Regions from separate parts of the Homo sapiens genome. Here region 2 is linked to region 1. The links are contacts of gene promoters, found by promoter capture Hi-C in blood cells and fetal thymus (Javierre and others, 2016). All regions are on one chromosome and are shown on one strand. The core of a region is centred on a gene start or on the middle of the fragment in contact, and the rest is flanking DNA. Distances in the headings are between cores, read along the strand shown. Region 1 holds the start of NEIL3 (nei like DNA glycosylase 3). Region 2 overlaps AGA-DT (AGA divergent transcript).

Region 1 (5,911 bases), core at 1,822-4,321:
CCTAGCCAACATGGCAAAACCTGGTCTCTACTAAAAATACAAAAATTAGCTGGGGGTGGTGTTGGGTGCCTGTAATCCCAGCTACTCGGGAGGCTGAGGCAGGAGAATTGCTTGAACCCAGGAGGTGGGGGTTACAGTGAGCTGAGATCACGCCACTGCACTCCAGCCTGGGAGACAGAGCTAGACTCTGTCTTGGAAAAAAGAAAAGGTGAGAATAATAGCATGAGCCAAAAAACAAAAGGTACAAAATATATTCTGGGAATAAGTACAATTTATCTTAATTTCGTAGAGTATTCATAGTTTTCAAAGTGCTTTCACATAAGCTATGTTGTGTATGGAAATTAGAGCAATCATATGCAGGTGTATAGAAAAAGTATTATTTATTGTCCATATGAAGAAAGTGAGTTTTGGAAAAGATAAATGACATATATATATATGGTTATCAAATAGCACAATTTAATAGATTTAGCAAATTTACTGAAATTAGTAAATTGGACTTAAGAAGAAATTGTGAAGGTTCCTCTGGTAAGAGTGCACAAGAGAAAATTCAAGGAGGATAGCAGTTAGCAGGATCCTGACATAGTCCAGCTGAAATGTAGCAAGGGTCTGCACTAGGGTAGGCTTGCTTGCAATGTTGTGGGCTCTTTTTACAGACAATGTAGATACACAGCGTATGCGAGTTTGCTTTTGATTGGACGTAAGAAGCAAGATCAAAGAGATATACCAAAGGACTCAGAGGCTAGTCACATATAAACAAAATCTGGGCCAGGTGCAGTGGCTCATGCCTGTAATCCCAGCACTTTGGGAGGCAAGGCGGGTGGATCCCTTGAAGTCAGGAGTTCAAAACCAGTCTGGCCAACATGGTGAAACCCCGTCTTTACTAAAAATACAAAAATTAGCCAGGCGTGGTGGTAGGTGCCTGTAATCCCAGCTACATCGGAGGCTGAGGCAAGAGAATTGCTTGAACCCAGGAGGTGGAGGTTGCAGTGAGCCAAGGTCAGGCCACTGCACTCCAGCCAACAAAACAAAACAAAATCTGACTCCGCCTTTCAGTCACGCCAGTGAAATCTCTTAATGCCTTCAGTGTCAGTCCCCAACTCTTACTAATTAAAGATCGTATTTGACCCAAATGTGCACAGTACACAACACCTTAAAGAGAAATGAGGTGAATCAGATAAATGAACAGGTTGATATTTTTTAAATTTGTCCACAAGCTCTTTGATATCCCTCCTTTCAAATCACAGCTTAATTCCCCTCCCCTTGTGAATGCACTGTATTTAATGACTGGCTTCTAATGAATGGAATAAGAAGTAAGTTACCATAGTAAACTAAGTAATAAAGGGTGACTAAGTAATAAAGGGCATTGCAGCTTTCTCCTTGACTTCTCTCTTGGATCACACTCTCAGCTGCCATGTCATTAGAAGAGCCGAGCTGCACTATAGAGACACAAGAGGTGAGAAACTGAGGCCTCCTGCCAACAGCCATGCAAGTGACTCATCTCGGAAGTGGATCTTTTAGCTACAAAAAGCCTTTGGGGCACTTTAGCCTTGGCTAATATTTTAACTGTAACCTCTTGAGAAATGCTGAGCCAGGATGACTCTGGCTAGCTAGACTATTGCCAAATTCCTGACCCACAGAAACTTTGAAATAACAAATGGGATAATTGATGAGGTAACAATAAATAACTAGTACAACGCTGAAAGAGGAGAAGGTATATAGGACTTTTCTCCATCAAAGGACAGAGATTATTGAATTGAACAAGGGAGTAAAGTACAAATAGTCCTGAAATTGATCCAGCCAACTTTTGATCACTAATCTCTCCCTGCAAAGGAAAGATTTAATACTTTTCAAAATTTCAATCAAGTCTTCAGTATATTCAAATTCAACTCTCTAGTATACAGATGCTCCTCAACTTACGATGGGGTTATGTCCTGATAAACCCGTTGTAAACTGAAAATACAGTAAGTCGAAAATGCCTTTAATATATCTAACCTACCAAACATCATAGCTTCACGAGGCCCTCCTTAAATGTGTTCAGAACACTTACATTAGCCTACAGTTGGGAAAAATCACCTAACACAAAGCATATTTTATAATAAAGTGTTGAATAATTTATTGACTACTGTACTGAAAATGAAAAACAGAATGGCTATATGAGTACTCAAAGTACAGTTTCTACTGTGTGTCACTTTTGCACCATCATACAGTCAAAACACTGTTACGCTGGGGCATCCTAAGTCAGCAACCACCTGTGTATATGCTCTTGTGGTTTAACGGCAGCACAGTGCTATGCTTATGAAATCACTTAGAAATTGACATTCTGTTTTAATGTGTAGTATTTCAGTTTTCAAAAAAGAATACACTTTATAATTTACAAAACTATATGGAGTCATAAACTTCATAGATTTATATGTATGCATGCATCTTTGGTTAGGGTTGTGGGTAAATTTGAAAAGCTACGCATTACCCTCAAATTTATATAAACCTCTACGTTTAACAAAGCAATTTCATATAGCTTTCATCTTGGGGCGTCCCCTTACAAAATGGATGCATGCACTTAGGTAGGGCTCACTTAACTATCTAATAATGGAGTTTTTAAATATAGACACTAGAATATATTCTGCTGTTTGTTCCAAAAACCCTCTTCTTCGTTTCTCTTATCCCACCCACGTCCGAATATAGCATGCCAAAAACAGAGCCAAAAACAAGATTGTCTGTGACATATCTGTCCTGTCACAGACAAGGACAGATTAAGAGGACCAGATCAGAAAATGTGTGTATACTAAGTAGCTCAAAGACAAGGGCAAAACTTTAACGCAAAGAAAATACATTCAGAGCTTTCCAAGTCCCAATTTCTTCTGCTTTTACAGTTCAGCCTAGTTAGTTGTCCTCCACGCCCCCCGCCCCACGCGCGTTTGCGTTTTCTTAATAAACCCACAGCAAGACCTAGGGCGGGGGTGAACCACAGCGCATGCGCCGTAGGGAGCGACCTCAACAGCTAGGGTGCTGTTTGGGCGGGGCCTGGGCGGGGCCAGACGCGCGCGAGATTTGAATTTCCTCTGCGTGCGGTCAGTGCCCGCGCAGCGTTGAGTTGCACAGCGGTATTCTCACCAGGCCCTGCAATCGGTGGGCCACAGTGCCGGCCACAGAGATGGTGGAAGGACCAGGCTGTACTCTGAATGGAGAGAAGATTCGCGCGCGGGTGCTCCCGGGCCAGGCGGTGACCGGCGTGCGGGGAAGCGCTCTGCGGAGTCTGCAGGGCCGCGCCTTGCGGCTCGCAGCCTCCACGGTTGTGGTCTCCCCGCAGGTGAGCTACTCCTGTAACAGGCCATGCAGTCAGCAGGGGGGAAATGGAATAAAGACCCCATCAGGGTTCCAGGATTTAAAGTGTCATCTCTTTGCTCTGGCCCAGGTTTCCTGGGGTCCCACCTTTCACAGAGTTTATCGTCACTTTACTGTAGGGAGAAGTCGGTCCTAGCGCGCCTGCGCAGGAGAGGAGGGCTAGCGTTCTGGGCTCACGCTGCCGGAGCAAGATGCCCTAGGGGAATCCAGTGAAGGTGTTTTATCCGAGTCACCTTACTTAACTTCTTTATGATACACACATGGTTTCCCATGTCTACAGCTGCATTTTTTACTATTGATATTATCAAATCTCTGCTACCTCTGATATGTTTTCTTCGTCCCATTTTAAGCTTTTAGCATAAAATTCTACTTTCTTGCTTGGCTAATCTGCAATTGGTAAGTATATCACAACTAGTATATAATTCTAAAACTACACGTAGAAAATTTAGCACTAACTTCTCACTCAACTTCATATTGCCATCTAATTAAGGGGCAATGAAACCCAGTTCTGGTTCCCTTAAGTGAATTTATTTCTTTTTAAAGTAAACTAGCACAGCTTCTTGCCACTCAGGCATTCATTGCAGACGATGTGGTATTCATTTGGCCAGAACTTGTACTAAAAATATTCTGATTAAGGCATCATGTTTTAAAAGCCCTCTAGATGTATGGATGATTGTATTTCATGCCTACATGCAATATTGCACTGTATTTCAATTTCTTCTGCAAAGCTTCTTATAGCCTTTGGTCCTGGAAGAAAAAGTTGCCTGCTATGAAATTAGCATATGCTTACAACTTGAAAGAAATGAGGTTCTAAGTCTAAGAAAATATATTTTCAAACTTGGGAAAAAATAAGTTTTACATCTCCTTCCAATTGCCCTTTTGTTTATTTTGACTTGATATGCCAGTAAGTACTCTGTACCTATTTTTTTTTATTATTGTTATAGTGTTTCTAAAATCGTTTCAGGGTACCACAGAGATGGATTTTAGATGGTTTCTTAAGAATATTAATATTTATGAAAATTACTCATTCAATAAAATTTTGAATACTCAAGACACCTGGGGAGCAAAAACAAATACTTCCTCTTTTGGAGCCTATACTTCAGTTGGGAAGACACAAAGACATTCATTAAATAATCACCTAAAGAAATATAAATTAATAAGTTCTGTGAAGGAGAGATACACGATTCTTTAAGGACTTGTAGGAAGACCTGGGAAGGCTTCCCCAGGGAAGTAGCAAAGCTGAGGTGTGGGCCGGGTGCAGTGGCTCATGCCTGTAATCCCAGCACTTTGGGATGCTGAGGTGGGCAGATCGCCTGAGGTTGGGAGTTCAACACCAGCCTGACCAATATGGAGAAATTCCATCCCTACAAAAATAAAAAATTAGTCAGGCATGCTGGTGCATGCCTGTAATCCCAGCTACTCAGGAGGCTGAGGCAGGAGAATCGCTTGAATCCAGGAGGTGGAGGTTGCAGTGAGCTGAGGTCGCGTTATTGCACCCCAGCCTGGGCAACAAGAGCGAAACTCTGTCTCAAAAAAAAAAAAAAAAAAAAAGCTGAGGTGTGCAGGGTGAGTAGAAGCCATGCAGCTCAGGGATTGGAACAGGAAAAAGACTGAAAGAAAGCCAGAGTAGACACTGCCCTCTCATTTAGGAGTCGACTGCAGAAATCCAGGTGACAAATTTGGGGTCAAGTGCTGGTGGTGGAGATGAAGACAAGAGAATCACTATGATGGGAGGGCTAAGCAATGGATATGACATGAATATACTTAGGGATATCATCATTTACATCATTCAACCACAACGTATTTTGTGTTAGGTTTTATGCTAGCTCCTGCGGATACGAAGATGAGTAGGATATGCTTTCTGCTGTGAGAGTCCAACCTAATGTTTTAAATAAATATCACCTCATTGGTATTTAGGAAAAATAGCTTAAACATTTCCTTTTAAGTTTTGTTGTGATTATCTCTGATGGTATGGCATGAGATGCTTTTACATTTCATTCAGTCATGAAAAAGGATAACCCTATGATAAAGGATTAACCTGATTCTACAGATGAGGCATATGAGGCTCAGAGTGACTTTAAGTAAATTTGCCCAAGATCACATGTCTAGTAAGGGGCTAAACCAGGGTTTGATTTTTCTTTAAAACTCCAAAGCCTACCCTCTTAACCATGCCATAGCTCCTCTCAGCCATAAAAGATTCAGTAGGATCTTTATTGCTTTTTTAGCATACAACGGTAAGAACACCATAATGCTCAGTATATAGTAGTGGTTATTTATTAAATAGAAAAGTGCAATCTTGGATTTTTGGCTGTGTCTACCACCATTTTTAGTTTTGTTCGGTTGAGTCAATTCTCTTATATCTATTCTGATAATTCTCTTCTAACAGCTTCTATGGCCATGTTTGGATTGCACAAAAGAGTGCAGCCTGATAATATAATACAAATGCGTCAGTAATGGTTAGGCAATTATTAACATCACTTGGCAGCAATATTCAATAAGTTATACCCCACACATAAAAAGCCTGGCATTTAAAGGTATTATTTTTGATACCTTGATAGAAAGAGGCATT
Region 2 (5,911 bases), core at 2,538-5,037, 140 kb after region 1:
GATTGTGCAGTAGAATGTGGGCCTATTAAGTTATTTCTTATCAAAATAAATTATGTACAACATATTTTCAATGTGTAATTGTAATACTGGGCCACTGCTGTGATATAGTTTTCATAACAAGGACATAGTAGACTATTAAACATGGTGGATCTTGCTTTTTGTGACAGTTGTTTATAACATTATGATGTCATCATAAATGTGATCCATTACAATAGTAAAGCCTTAGGGCAACAGAGTAGATGTCAGGATGTCTTCCTACCACTTAAAAAATGACTTTGACATTGTTAAGGTAGTGTGACAGATGATTTCAATAAAGAAATTCAACAATAAAAGCAAACTTCTAAACTAACAGTGACTTACAGGAAGTACATTATGCATTTAAAATGATATCTACTTGTCGATCATGACAATGAGTATTAGAAAACTATCCAAATAATGAACACATGTATCCTGTGTGTAGCTACACAAATAGTCTGTTAATTCTCAATCATTCATATAAAAATATGAAAGGAAAGATTTTCACATAACATAGCTTATTTTTTTCATTTTTTAGAAACACTTTTGTGTCCTTCAAATATCTCTGAAATACTCTAGCTCTTGTTGAAAATCACCAGCCTCTTAACATTTTGATATGTATCTGTTTGGTGAAAAATCTTGGTATTATACACACTGTTGTAGAACCTGCTTTTTTATTTAATATCTCTTTGACCTCTGCATATCATTAAAATTTATGCTTTTTAAAAACCTTCATTGTGCAATGTAAATACAGTAAAGGACATAAAATGTAAATAAATAGATTAAATAATTTTGTAGAAAATGAACAGCTATGTAATCACCACTTATATAAACAAACAGAATATTGTCAGTACCCCAGAAAACCGCTAAGGACCTCTATAACATGTTCTCTGAAGATTTAAAAAAATTTTATTTAATTTTTTATTTTTATAGATACGGGGTATAAGTGTAGTTGTGTTATATGTATATATTGAGTAACGGTGACGTCTGGGCTTTTAGTGTACCCATCACCCAAACAGGATACATTGCACCCAAAAGGTAGTATTTCATTCCTCACCCCCTCCTTCCCTCCTACCTTTTGGAGTCTTCTGTTATTCCACTCTAAATGTCTGTGTGTACTCATTGTTTAGCTCCCACTTACGAATGAAAACATCCAGTTTTTTACTTTCTGTTTCTGAGTTATTTCACTAAGGATAATGGCCTTCGGTTCCATTAACATTGCTGCAAACGACATGATTTCATTCATTTTTATGGATGAGTAGTATTCCATGGTGTGTGTGTGTATATATACATATATCACATTTTTAATCCAGTTGTTTGCTGATGGACATTTAGGTTGATTCCATGACTTTGCTATTGTGAATAGTGTTGTGATAAACATTTGAGTGCAGGTGTCTTTTTGATAAAATGCTTTCTTTCCCTTTGGTTAGATACCCAGTAGTGGGATTGCTGGATCGAAGGGTAGATCTATTTTTAGTTCTTTGAGAAATCTCCATGCTGTTTTCCATAGAGATTATACTAATTTACATTCCCACCAACTGTGTATAAGTGTTTCTTTTTCTACACATCCTTGCCAACATCTGCTGTTTCTTGCTTTTTTAGTAATAGCCATTCTGACTGGTATGAGATGGTATCTCATTGTGGTTTTAAATTGCATTTTTCTGATGATTACTGATGCTGAACATTTTTTTCATATGGTTGTTTGCCACTTGTATGTCTTCTTTTGAAAAATATGTGTTCATGTCTTTGCCTACTCTTTAATGGGGTTATTTGTTGTTTTTGTCATTGTATTGTTTGATTTCTTCCTAAATTCTGGATATTAGTCCTTTGCCAGATGCATTGTTTCCAAATATTTTCTCCCATTCTGAAGGTTGTGTGTTTACTCTGTTGATTACTTCTTTTGCTGTGCAGAAGCCTTTAGGTTTAATGAAGTCCCATTAGTCTATTTTTGGTTTTGTCACATTTCCTTTTGAGGACCTAGTGATAAGTTCTTTGCCTAGACCAATGTCCAAAAGAGTTTTTCCTAGATTTTATGATTTTATTCTAGAATTTTTATAGTTTCAGGTCTTACATTTAAGTTGAAGACTTTATTTCTTAAGAACAATTTTTGGTTCACAGCAAAATTGAGCAGAAAGTACAAAATATACCCCTGCCCCCACACATGATAGCCTTCCCACCAGAGTGGCACATTTGTTACACTTGATGAACAAATTCTACACATCATTATCATTCCACATCCATAGTTCATATTTTTTTTTTTTTGAGACGGAATCTTGCTGTGTTGCCCAGGCTGGAGTGCAGTGGCGCCATCTCGGCTCACTGCAAGCTCCGCCTCCTGGGTTCACGCCATCCTCCTGCCTCAGCCGCCCGAGTAGCTGGGACTACAGGCACCCACCACCAGGCCCAGCTAATTTTTTGTATTTTTAGTAGAGACAGGGTTTCACTGCGTTAGCGGTGGTCTTGATCTCGTGACCTCATGGCACATTTGTTACAGTTGATGAACAAATTGTACACATCATTATCATTCCACATCCATAATTCATATTAAGGTTCACACTTGGTATTATACATTCTGTGGGTTTGACAAATGTATACTGGCATATATTCCATTAGAGTATTGCAAGAATCCTCTACTCCATCTATTCATCCCTCCCTCCCCTCTAACTCATGGCAACCAACTGACCTTTTTACTGTCTCCATGGTTTTTGCCTTTTCTGGAAGGTCATTTAGTTGGAATTGTGCAGTATGGAGACTTTTTTAGATTGGCTTCTTTCACTTTGTAATACGCATTTAAGGTTCCTCCATGTCTTTTCATGGCTTGATAGCTCATTTTATTTAAGCGCTGAATAATATTCCATTGTCTGGATGTATCACAGTTTATTCATTCTCCTACTGAAGGACATCTTGGCTGCTTCCAAGTTTTGGGAATTATGAATAAAGCTGCTGTAAACATCCATGTGCACCTGGGTGTGGTGGTGCATGTCTGTAATCCTAGTTACTGGGAAGGCTGAGGCATGAGGATTGCTTGAGGCCAGGAGTTAGAGACCAGCCTGAGCAATGCAGCTAGACTCTGTTTCTAAAAAAAAATTTTTTTAAGTTAACTTTGTGGTGGCAACTGCTGCCTGTAGTCCCAGCTATTAAATGGAAGGCTGAGGCAGGAGGATTGCTCAAGCTCAGTGTTTCAAAACTAGAATGAGCTGTTTGCACCACGGCCCTCCAGCCTGGGGCAACACAGTGAGACCTTGTCTCTGAAAAAAAATTCCATGTGCAGATACAATGTAATTTTAAAGGATGTATAAAATCTATTTATGATGCACAGAAATTACTTAACCATTGATTTCTGTTGCTGTAAAAATTTTTGGCTTTGTATACGAAGAATTTTTTCAGAATTAATCTGTCAGATACTATGTTGAGTTTATATGATAGTCAGTAGCAATTAAAATAGCATCACGCTAGATCATGAGTGAAGGTCAGTATTAGGAATTCAGGACTCTGACAAAGCAGAGTTAGCGCTGTCTGTTACTAACACTAAGGTTTCTCAAGAGGGCAGATTTAGAGATTAAGCAGTTCTCCAAATTCAGGACAAATTCAGGGAGTCAGGTGGTTTGAGAGAATGGTATCATAAGAACTCTGATATGAGGAAGCCCCTCATATCAGAGGGGCTTGAGACAGTGTCTTGCTCTGTTGCCCAGGCTGGAATGCAGTGGTCCAATCTTGGCTCAAGATTGAGAGGATTGGCAGTGCATCCTCTGCCTCTTGGGTTCAAGCAACCCTTCCACCTCACCCTCCTGAGCAGCTGGAATCCCAGGCATGGGCCACCACACCCAGCTAATGTAGCTTCTGTGGAAGAGGCTTTTTGATCCTCCTATCATCTTTATAATTTTCTACTAACCACAGAATTGGGTAGCTGTGAAACCACTAACTTTTAATTGCACCCAGAGCTCTGAGGACACTCAGTAGTTTAGGTTCCCTTATTACTGGATGGCCCTTAGAATAAAGGCACAGCTTAAAAATGTTTTTTTTTAATGCCAGGTCTCGCTGTGTTTCCCAGGCTGGGTGCAGTGGCTATTCAAAGGTACAATGATAGCTCACTGCAGCCTGGAACTCCTGGACTCAAGCGATCCTCCTGCCTCAGCTGCGACTAACAGGTATGTACCACCGCACCCAACTCATAAATCATTAAACCCCTTGAATTTCATAGGTTTAGAGTTATGATCATGGTAACTCTGCAATTTTGTATTAGCTTTAAGTGCTTTCGGTTGCAAATAACAGAAAACTTAATGGTGATTTAAAGCGACAAGGCTTTACTTTTTTGCACCTAATAAGAAAGTTGCTGGCATTGGTTCAGTAGCTCTAAACTGTGAGAACTTACTTGCTGCTTTGTTTTCACAAGACAGCTACTGTTGCTCCAGACATACATCCACATTCAAGCTGGGGAAAAGGACAAGGACCTGGTATCAGCCACATCTTTCCCTTTTCATCCAGAAAGCAAAAGCCTTCTCAGACACTCCCAGTAGAATACTGCTTTATTCTCATCATCAGAACGATGCCACCTGGCCTTTTCAATGAAGTCTCCAGTACTCAACAATATTGCTTTCTTTTTTTCAAAAAATTTTGAAGGATCTGGATTTCGCTTCCGGATCAACATAGTATACAGTGGGGCCGGGAGCAGTGGCTCACGCCTGTAATCCCAGCACTTTGTGAGGCCAGACCAGGCAGATCACTTGAGGCCAGGAGTTCGAGACCAGCATGGCCAACATGGCGAAACCCGTGTCTTCTAAAAATACAAAAAATTAGCTGGGTATGGTGGTGCATGCCAGTAATCACAGCTACTCAGGAGGCTGAAGCAGGAGAATTGCTTCAGCCTCTCCCCTCCCCACCCCTCCTCTCCCCGCCTCTCCTTTCCTCTCCTCTCCTCTCCCTTTTCTTTTCAAAAGTATTTATTGGCTGCCATGTGTCAGAGGTTGCCGTGAGCTCAGATCAGGCCACTGCACTCCAGTGTAGGCAATAGAACGAGACTATGTTTCAAAAAACAAACAAAAAAGCCCCCAAACCCCACATGGTATATAATGGGAATAGCACATGCAGAAACAGAAGCTCAGATACTTAGGTGAGCTTGAAAATTTAAGACCTATGTAAATGTCTAGAAACGTTTTAAAGGACTTTGGACTTCAGAAGAGAATAAATTCAGAGTCTAAACCTATCTTATTTAGATCTCAAGGACCAAAGAAGCCTCATTCAACATCAGAATTATGACTGTGGTGCTCAAGGAGAGATAGAAAGGAAAATGACAGTTCTCCATCTGGGAGAAAAAGATGGTTATTTTTCAGAATAAGAGATTAAAGGAACATGGGGGATTAATGCCTGCTAATCTTGATCTTCTCTAAGAGTAGTAAAAATCACCTGCCAAGATTACAACAGATTTGAAATCGAATTGGTGACTAGAAATTGGTGAAGCATTTTAAAAGATTTATTATGGAAAGTCTTATGAAGATGGGCAATAACTGAACAAAAAAGATTGTGAAACATGAATGGGGGTCCATTTGAATCAAGTAGCCTAACATTGCTGAATCCTAGTTAATCACAGTCTTTTGCCTTTCTTCAGTATCATTTTAAAACACCTAAGTTATAACACTAAAAGTGAGGGTTATCCCTTACTGTAGAGGGAGTCTAGTTGGTTGATGGGAAATCTATTGGTATTGCTGATAATGACAAAGTGCAGGCTGGAGTTGGAAAATAAGGAGTTTGTAATAAATGATAACAGCCCTTTTCATATACCACTAACATTGTATTCTAGGCTTCAAAGGTAGGTTCAACCACAAATTGAAGAGGGTGTCTTGCAATATAAGGGTGACTTAGCCTTAGAAACCCTAACAATTGTTGCTTTTCATTTGCC

What was found. The method cuts DNA at HindIII sites, captures the fragments that hold promoters and counts their contacts. A CHiCAGO score of 5 or more calls a contact.
Region 2: a fragment that was not itself captured here is called in contact with the fragment with the promoter of NEIL3 in region 1 in 2 of 17 cell types (fetal thymus and monocytes); the score reaches 8.7 in fetal thymus.

The regions. Positions count from the first base shown.
Region 1 is chr4:177,306,803-177,312,713 of GRCh38, forward strand. It overlaps NEIL3 (nei like DNA glycosylase 3), which reads left to right and starts at 3,072. Exons shown (of 10, transcript NM_018248.3): 1 at 3,072-3,307. The coding sequence starts at 3,152. RefSeq lists a silencer at 2,953-3,072 and an enhancer at 3,153-3,242. The HindIII fragment of the contact is 15,817 bases long and covers 1-3,690 here.
Region 2 is chr4:177,447,428-177,453,338 of GRCh38, forward strand. The region is part of intron 1 of AGA-DT (AGA divergent transcript); the gene reads left to right. Among named protein-coding and RNA genes, the nearest start is that of AGA-DT, 5.4 kb to the left of the region's middle. The HindIII fragment of the contact is 9,950 bases long and covers 1-5,911 here.